Regions from separate parts of the Homo sapiens genome. Here region 1 is linked to region 2. The links are contacts of gene promoters, found by promoter capture Hi-C in blood cells and fetal thymus (Javierre and others, 2016). All regions are on one chromosome and are shown on one strand. The core of a region is centred on a gene start or on the middle of the fragment in contact, and the rest is flanking DNA. Distances in the headings are between cores, read along the strand shown. Region 1 overlaps LOC124905975 (a long non-coding RNA gene). Region 2 holds the start of MRPL19 (mitochondrial ribosomal protein L19).

Region 1 (4,436 bases), core at 589-3,088, about 60 Mb before region 2:
AAACTACAGTGGTGACAGGCAATGTGGCATATGCAAGGATTTCTACACAGTTTGATATGCTAGAAAGTAAAATTTGTGGAGAGTGGCAGGTAATAAGGCTGGAAGTAAGCAGGAGGCTGGACATGGAGGACCATCCTATGGAGGGTGGATTCAGGAGCCTTACCAACTAAGAGCTGTGTTGAAGGGGAGAGAGTTTGTTAATGGAAAGACTGACCATAGCAAGATTCAAGATCCAGTGCAAGTACTCCTGAGTCGTTTTTTCCCTCCTAACAGGTAGATCTGGGGCAACCTACACGGACAGCATTTATGGAGGGGGAAGGTTACTGTTACTTGTGTGAAATGATGGGTAGGTTTGTATTCTATATTGTGAGGAAGGACTTTGTGAGGGAGGGGGTTTATGGATGACGATATTGTATTTTCTACTCAACTTCTTTTAGATTAAAACAAATTCTCTCTCTAGCTGCTTCCTCCTTCTTGGTGGTGAGATCCTCAGAAACTAAGCAGCTGGCTTTATCTTGTTCCAGAAGGACCTGGGAATAGGAACTGAGGAGGAGGGTGGATGTCAATGAAAGGACAAACTAAACAACCTAATTTGACTTGTGTTCCCTAGGCTGGGTTCAGAGTCACATCCTCTACTGTATATGTCACATTTCACCTTCATTTTCATTGTGAGGAAATGGCCATATATTCAGGGATAATTTTGGATGTTTCCCTCACAACTCAGGCCAAATGTCTCCTCCGCCTTTTAGCCAGAATAGCTTGATTATTGCTGTATTATGAAACATTCAAAAAATGTTCCTGAAAGATACATTACACAATATCCATAATGATGTGTGTTTTATTTCCTTTCTTTTCTGTACCTCTTAGCAAAGTGTTGGGCTGCAGAAAAAAGAAATTTTAAAGTGGCTTAACTGGGACATTCTCAAGCTGCAAGAGAGGTCTAGAGGTAGACAGACCTGGGCTTACCATCATTAAGGATCCAGCCTTTTATTTCTGCTTCAGTAGTCTTAGTGTGCGGCTTTTATCTTCGGGACTCATTGCTGACTTTCCAGGCATCATATCAATGTTCCAAAGGAAAAACGGTGCATGCCAGACAGATCTTTCCCTTTTGAAAAGCATTCCTGGAAGTCCCAACCTGGCACTGCCAGTTATATCTCTCCAGGCAGAGCTGAGTCTCTGGGCTGTCTCTCTACAAAGGAATCTGGAAAGGTGATTGTTTTCTTCTTCTTCCAAGTTTCCATTTTTTTTTTCTTTTTGAGAAGAGTGTGGCTGTGTCACCCAGACTAGAGTGCAGTGGTGTGATCACGGCTCACTGCATCCTCGACCTCTTGGGCTCAAAAATGATCCTTCATCATGACATCAGGAGATCAAGACCATCCTGGCTAACACGGTGAAATCCCGTCTCTACTAAAAATACAAAAAAATTAGCCCGGCATGGTGGCGGACGCCTGTAGTCCCAGCTACTCAGGAGGCTGAGGCAGGAGAATGGCGTGAACCCAGGAGGCGGAGCTTGCAGTGAGCCGAGATCACGCTGCTGTACTCTACTGTACTCTAGCCTGGATGACAGAGTGAGACTCCATCTCAAAAAAAAAAAAAAGATCCTCCCCCGGCCAGCTTCCCAAATAGGTGGACTGCAGGTGCGTGCCACCATGCTTGGTTAATTTTTTAAAGTTTTGTTAGAGAAAGGGACTCTATGTTGCCCAGGATGGTCTCAAACTCTTGGGCTTAAGTCATACTCCCACCTTGGCCTCCGAAAGTGGTGGAATTAAAGGCATAAGCCACTACGTCCAGCCTTTTTCAGATTTCTATAATAAAGAAAGGCAATGGGAAAGGGGACTACTATTGTTTGAATGTTCCCTCCAAACTTCACATTGCCAATGTAATTTTAAGAGGGGGGCCTTTAAGAGGTGATTGGCCCATGAAGGTTCTGCTCTCATGAATGGGATTGAAGCCCTTGTAAAAGAAGTTTCATGGAGCATTTGGTCTCTTGCCCTTGTACCTCCTGCCATGTAAGGACATAGAGCTCCTCCCTGCTGGAGGACATGGTGTTCAAGGCACCACCTTAAAAGCAGAAACCAAACCCTCACCAGACTATAAACTTACTGGCACCTTAATCTTGGACTTCCCAACCTCCAGAACTGGCAGAAATAATTTCTGTTCCTTATAAATTAGCCATTCTCAGGTATTTTGCTATAGCAGCACAAATGAGCTAACCTAGGAACTGTGTATGGCTTTTGGGTGGTCCATCTACAGAGGCCTTCCCAGGACCCATCCTCTCTACACTTTCCCAGATACCTGAAGGCATTTTTTTTCAGGTCTGCCTTAGTAGTTGCAAAACCATTTGCTCTACAGTGGGATATAATTATAATATAGCTTACTTGAAAATACATAGCATAATATCTTGGGCCCATGGATAACATAGTAAAACTTCCCTATCACATGATTAGTGGGGCCCAAACTACCCAATTACAGAAAATGTGGGGTTATTCTGAGGTTAAAAAAAAAATACTGGGGGCAAGCCCAGGCTGAGGGGTGTGTGTGTGTGTGTTTGAGACAGAGTCTTGCTCTGTCGCCTAGGCTGGAGTGCAGTGGCATGATCTCGGCTCACTTCAACCTCCGCCTCCTGGGTTCAAGTGATTCTCCTGCCTCAGCCTCCCAAGTAGCTGGGATTACAGGCGCCCGCCACCAAGCACGGCTAATTTTTTGTATTTTTAGTAGAGACAGGGTTTCACCATGTTGGCCAGGCTGGTCTTGAACTCCTGACCTCAGGTAATCCACCCACCTCGGTCTCCCAAAGTGCTGGGATTACAGGCATGAGACACCACGCTCAGCCATATGTGTTTTTTAATTATAATTTTTTAAACAGCTTTATTAAGGTATAATTTAAATACCATAAAATTCACTAATGTACAATTCAATGATTCACAGAGCTGTGCAACCAGCACCACAATCCAGTTGTTGAAGACTTCCATCACCCGCCTTAAATGTCGCACGTCCATTTGTATAAATGGAGACAGATGAACAAAAGCCTACGCTGGGAGTTTTTAGGGTCCAGTCCAATCTCTTCTCAGTTTGGCTACAGTTTGGTGCCACCTGGTGGTGTCTGTCCTGGTTTCTGGGACCAGGCCAGGGTTTCTAGGAATCTCCCAGTTAGTAGGCAACCATTAAATCAACCTATTCTTGGGGAGACTAGACCAGCAAAATACCAGACTGAAAGGCACCCATCCTCTATCTTTTGGTTTGGTGAAGGGCCTGGCTGCTGTTTCTCTGCCTGGTGTTATTCTACCTGCCAAGGAGAGGAGCCAATCATACCCCAATTCACATATCCCAATTTGCATTACTGAGGGCACTGCAACACATACATACAAATATCTATAATTATTAAAGCAGTATATTAAGTGAGCTGAACTTGATAAGGCACAAACAGAAAACATTATCTGTTACCTTGAAATCATCTCTATGGGTTATTTCTTTCCCTGACCTAGATGAAGTCTCTGGCATCTTCCAGAGCTTTTCTGGTCACTCTGAGACAATGAAGAGTTGTCTGGTTACTTTCATCTAATTATACCCTCGTTTCTGTAAACTATCATGTCCAGGATCGTGATTGAAATTCACAACTTCAACCAACATCATGGCTTCCTCCTCTTCCTGCTTGGCCTATTCCACGCCAGAAGCCTGCAGTGGGATGGAGGATGGGGTCAGTCTCTTTTCTGTACTCGCCTCTCCCATTAGCTGTTGTTTCTGACTCCTGGGAAGGATAAAGTCTAGGGGATGGGGTGGCGGGTGGGTACACACCTTTATCTGGCTGGGTTTATGGTGATCTGATTCTGGTGCTTTCTGGCTTAGACATGCTCAAGGCTGATTGTTTCTCTTAGAGGGAACTTTTTGTGGTATCTTGGAGATTCTCCTTGCTGGCATCCTCCACATGCAACTCCCATGAGACAAGAGATATCTCTTCTCCAGTTTGGAAGGTAAGGATGCCACTGCGTTCTTTGGGGGGTCTGTGTGCTGAATCATTTAGCTCCTCCGGGAAGTCTCTTGGGCACATTCCCTTTGAAGAAAACTTCCAGTCCACTCTCCACAGATCTATTTATCCCTTGGGGAAAAAATGTCACACGATTCCCCCACAGTTAACTCCTGCAGCAGGCTTCTCTCTCCTTCTCTCTGTCTCTTTTTCTGCCCTGCCACCTCAGGTCCTCCTAGGGACGGCTTCTCAGAGCAGTCCTTACGCTTCCCAAACTCTCAGATCAAAAGTTCTCAGAGTATTTCCCTGAAATGCATTCTTTTCACAGAAATCTTTTCTCTTAATTTGCATCTTTAATTTTTTCATACTTTATCTCTTCCTTGAGACAGGGTCTTGCTCTGCCACCCAGGCTGGAGTACAGTGACACCATCATAGCTCACTGCAGCCTCCACCTCCTAGGCTCAAGAGATCC
Region 2 (4,447 bases), core at 1,015-3,514:
GGGCAGCAGGAGTGGCTTGGCAATGTCTAGTAAATCCTGCTGTCCTCCTGTGAAGGTCTGTCTTTTATTTCTCTGCCCCTACCTTTAGGACCAATCCCAGCAAGAGTGAAGGCCACGTGTTCTGGGCATGGTTAATACAGAAAAATCTTCACCACTGCCAGTCATGATTATCTTTGCCTCTCCTCCCTTTTACTCTTAAGGGCTTGAAGTCTACTTTTTCGGGTAGGTAGAAGAGCCAAAATATTGCTCATCTGAAATTTTGGTTGTGAGATTCCTTGTCATTTATAGAATAAATTCTTGTTCTAATCAAAGAAGCTAGAGTTAAAATAGAAGGCCCTGTCTTTCTTCACAGCATCTTGAATTCTGTGCTCAAAACATGGCCCTGTTCCTCAGGCTGATGTAACAGCTCATGTTCTTCAGGATGGCAAGTCAGAGTATAGAGGCCAAGCTGCAGAGGTTGGTTGCTTTTATGAGCATTTGACTTCTGTCAAAAGTAAACAGTAAGGCTTTAAACTGGGGAAAGGAAAGAACAGGGTATGCATTTCTGAGCCATCTTTTTTTGGTTGCTGCGTGAAGGACTGGAGGTAACCAGAGGCAAGAAGACTAATGAGAAGGCTGTTGCAGGGATCTCCAGGGATCCTGAAGAGAGAAAATATGTTGACCTAGATTGGAAATATGGATGGGAGGATGAGAAAGTATATGGATTCCTGAGATATTTGACGGTGTCAGGCATAGTTTTTGGAACTTCATCCAGGAGGAGACAGGGAGGAATCAAGAATGGCACTGAGATTTTTGGCTTAGGCAAGAGAGTGGATGCTGAAGCCATTCCTTGAGATAGCCAATACTGGGAAGGAAGTCTGGAGCTGAAAAAGATGAACTCAGTATGGATAGGCTGAATTTGAGGTAGCTTTGGGACATTAATGCAACTGGAATGACTATTATGTAGTTAAATTATCACATTACTCTAAGTGTTCAATCCTTATATAACCACTGCTGAAATAACAAATTCCAAATTTCTTTTTTTGTGTGTGTTTCTTTTTCTGTTTTTTTGAGACGGAGTTTCGCTCTTGTTGCAATGGCGCGATCTCGGCTCACTGCAACCTCTGTCTCCCAGGTTCAAGCGATTCTCCTGCCTTAGCCTCCCAAGTAGCTGGGATTACAGGAGCCTGCCACCACACCTGGATCATTTTTTTTATTTTTGGTAGAAACGGGGTTTCACTATGTTGGCCAGGCTAGTCTCAAACTCCTGACCTCAGGCGATCTGCCCGCCTCGGCCTCCCAAAATGCTGGGGTTAAAGGCGTGAGCCACTGCGCCCGGCTGTGTGTTTGTTTCTTAGAGATACGGTCTCACTATATTGCCCAGGCTGGTTTCCAACTCATGAGCTCAAGGGACCCTCCTGTCTCGGCCTCCCACAGTGCTGGGATTACAGGCATGCCTGGCCACGCCCAGTCATTTTCCAAATTTCTTAACAAGACTTACAATTTACCTTTTCCAGCTTTACTTCTCCCACCTATCCATACCCACAGTTGCCCAGCCCAAATTCATTTGGGTTCCTCAAAGGGTTAATGCTTTGTGTAGTCTCAAGGACTATGGGCCAGCAGTTCTGTCAGGAACTATTCTATTCTCTTTTCTGTGCATTCAGCAAAGAATTAGAAAAATTAGCTGGGCGTGATGGTGCGAGACTGTAGTCTTGGCTACTCGGGAGGCTGAGGTGAGAGGATCTCCTGACATCAGGAGTTGGAGGCTGCAGAGCCATGATCGCGCCACTGCACTCCAGCCTGGGTAACAGAGGAAGACCTTGTCTCAACAAAACAAAAGATGTTAGTGAGGGCCCAGGTAGGTGCTAGGTGCTGGGATAACATGGTGAGCAAAAAGAAGACTTTATCCCTTCCCTTGCCTCATTATAGTATAATGGCAGATTTAAATACTAATCTAATAATTACACAAGAAAGAATTGCAAATGAGATCAGAGCTGCCAATCGAAGGCACCCAGTGGGAAAGACGGCCTACAATGGGATTTTCGCATAGCGAAAGCTTGTCTGAGAAGATAGAGTGGATTCATAGGGGGAGGAAAAAGCTTTCTAGGCTGGGAGAACACCCCTGTGGAGGGGTGTAACTTGGCGCATTACGAGGAACTAGAGAAACGTGCACTTTTCCTAAGACATCAGGAAAGGAGCGAGGAGAGACTTATCCATTTTGTCCCATAGCAGCCGCCATATGGTGGCAGACAGCAACAACCTCGTCGCACTGATTACTGGGAGCTGTAGTCTTGACGTGAGCTAGCTGGCATGGCGGCCTGCATTGCAGCGGGGCACTGGGCTGCAATGGGCCTAGGCCGGAGTTTCCAAGCCGCCAGGACTCTGCTCCCCCCGCCGGCCTCTATCGCCTGCAGTAAGTGGAGCCGGACTTGCGAGCTGGGGCGCGTTAGGGGCCCAGGGTCAGGATGGGGGAGGCGAACCTGGAGATCAGAGGCAACCCCAGCGTTGGTCCCCCGTGGGACGCCGGGTTGGGGGAGATTGCGGGGCTCTGCGGGATCTCAGGGTTGGCACGAGAGTTCTGACCTCCGTCGTCCGCTCCCGCAGGGGTCCACGCGGGGCCTGTCCGGCAGCAGAGCACTGGGCCTTCCGAGCCCGGTGCGTTCCAACCGCCGCCGAAACCGGTCATCGTGGACAAGCACCGCCCCGTGGAACCGGAACGCAGGTGAGGCACTGCCCTGGCGCTAGGCCGGCAACTGGGGTCGGTGCGCGCGTGAGCGCGTTCGCGTTCGAGGTCCCGGCTCTAAGGTGGGGGCTGCACCTCCCCCTGCACGAGCAGGTGTGTAGGATTCAAGAGCCAGCGCACCACACTGTTCTTTCTTTCTCACTTCTCCCCAAGCCAGCATTGAACTTCTTTGCAGTTTTATTGAGTCAGAACTTCAAGTAGGGGTTCCCCATATTTTAAACTCTTTTCTCTGTGGTATTTGTCCTGTACCAGAGTTTTTCTCTGAGGTATATCCTGTTTATACCTGTTTACGTCCAAGAGCTCTTCTTTTCTCTCAAAAGACCCTTAACCCTGGATAGGAATCGATTGGCCAACTTAAAAAATTTGCTATGGTTTAGGTTGGAAGTTTTGGCAGACAAAGCACAGTAAAACTGGCCACTAAATTGTGTCTGAAACTTACTCATCAAAATAGTGTGAATAAAAACTTATATGAATGGTGGTAATCTTGGAGGTACATGTAAATTTAAAGGACTTAAGGTCTGAAAAGAGAGCTATGTAGCAACCTTTTTAAAAAGCCAGTTTTCAGAGGAAAAACCTGATATGATTATAGGCTTTTTGAAAGGGCTGTAGATTATTGATTGGATTACTTCTGGGATTTTTAATTTTTTTATTTTTTAAATTTTTTTTAGACAGAGTCTCTCTCAGTCTCCCAGGCTGGAGTGCAGTGGTGATTTTAGCTCACTGCAGCCTCAAATTTCTGGGCTCAAGTGATCCTCCCGCCTCAGGCTCCAGAGTAGCTGGAACTACTGGTACCACGCCTGGCTTTTTTTTTTCTTTTCTTTTTTTAACATTTAAAATATTCCACGGATTTAAATAGAAGTAAACTTGGAGTTAGAGAACTAAGAGATTCAGAAAATATTTCTTCATAAAACTTTGCTTTTGAGGGTAGAAATGGAATATCTCTTTTAAACAGTGGCATTTAATAGAATTCACTTAAATAGGAATGTAAATTATATGCTCTAGAGAACAATTTGACAGAATTTACTAAGTTTAAGTTGTGTATACCTTCTCACTCAGAAAGCACACAACTTAAACTCCTAACGTGTATGTACAAGGAGACAAGCACGAGAATGAATGTAACAGTATTTTTTGTAACAAAATTTAGAGGCAGCCTAGATATCCATCAGTAGGTGAACAGGCAAATACATTCATATGACAGAATATTGTATAGCAGTGAAAAATGAGTGAATTAGAGCTCACTTTTAAACATGGAAGATTTTCACAAATCTGTGTGTAAAAAAAACCTTTAGAATCATTAATGTAGTAGGATGCTATTTTTATGAAGTTTTAAAACTATAGGCCGGGTGCGGTGGCTCACGACTGTTATCCCAGCACTTTGGGAGGCCGAGGAGGGCAGATCACGAAGTCAGGAGTTCGAGACCAGCCTGGCCAACATGGCGAAACCCCCATTTCTACTAAAAGTACAAAAAAAAAAAAAAATTAGCCAGGTGTGGTGGCATGTGCCTATAATCCCAGTTACTCGAGAGGCTGAGGCAGAAGAATTGCTTGAACACAGGATGCCGAGGTTGCAGTGAGCCGAGATCGTGCCACTGCACTCCAGCCTGGGCGATAGAGCAAGACTCTGTCTCAGAAAAAAACAAAAACAAAATTATACGAAACAATATATGTTGCCCAGACATACATGCATATGAAAAGTAAAAAGAAATGTAAGGGGGGCCTTCTGAA

What was found. Contacts are between HindIII fragments. The CHiCAGO score rates a contact against its expected background, and 5 or more counts as called.
Region 1: a contact is called between a fragment that was not itself captured here and the fragment with the promoter of MRPL19 in region 2, in 2 of 17 cell types (total CD4 T cells and total B cells). The highest score is 11.4, in total CD4 T cells.

Annotation. Positions count from the first base shown.
Region 1 is chr2:15,585,431-15,589,866 of GRCh38, forward strand. LOC124905975 (a long non-coding RNA gene) reads right to left here. Exons shown (of 2, transcript XR_007086224.1): 2 at 2,839-4,436. Among named protein-coding and RNA genes, the nearest start is that of DDX1, 4.2 kb to the right of the region's middle. The HindIII fragment of the contact is 6,453 bases long and covers 1-4,436 here.
Region 2 is chr2:75,644,519-75,648,965 of GRCh38, forward strand. MRPL19 (mitochondrial ribosomal protein L19) reads left to right here and starts at 2,265. Exons shown (of 6, transcript NM_014763.4): 1 at 2,265-2,392; 2 at 2,584-2,701. The coding sequence starts at 2,290. RefSeq lists enhancers at 2,065-2,359, 2,195-2,494. The HindIII fragment of the contact is 2,636 bases long and covers 2,077-4,447 here.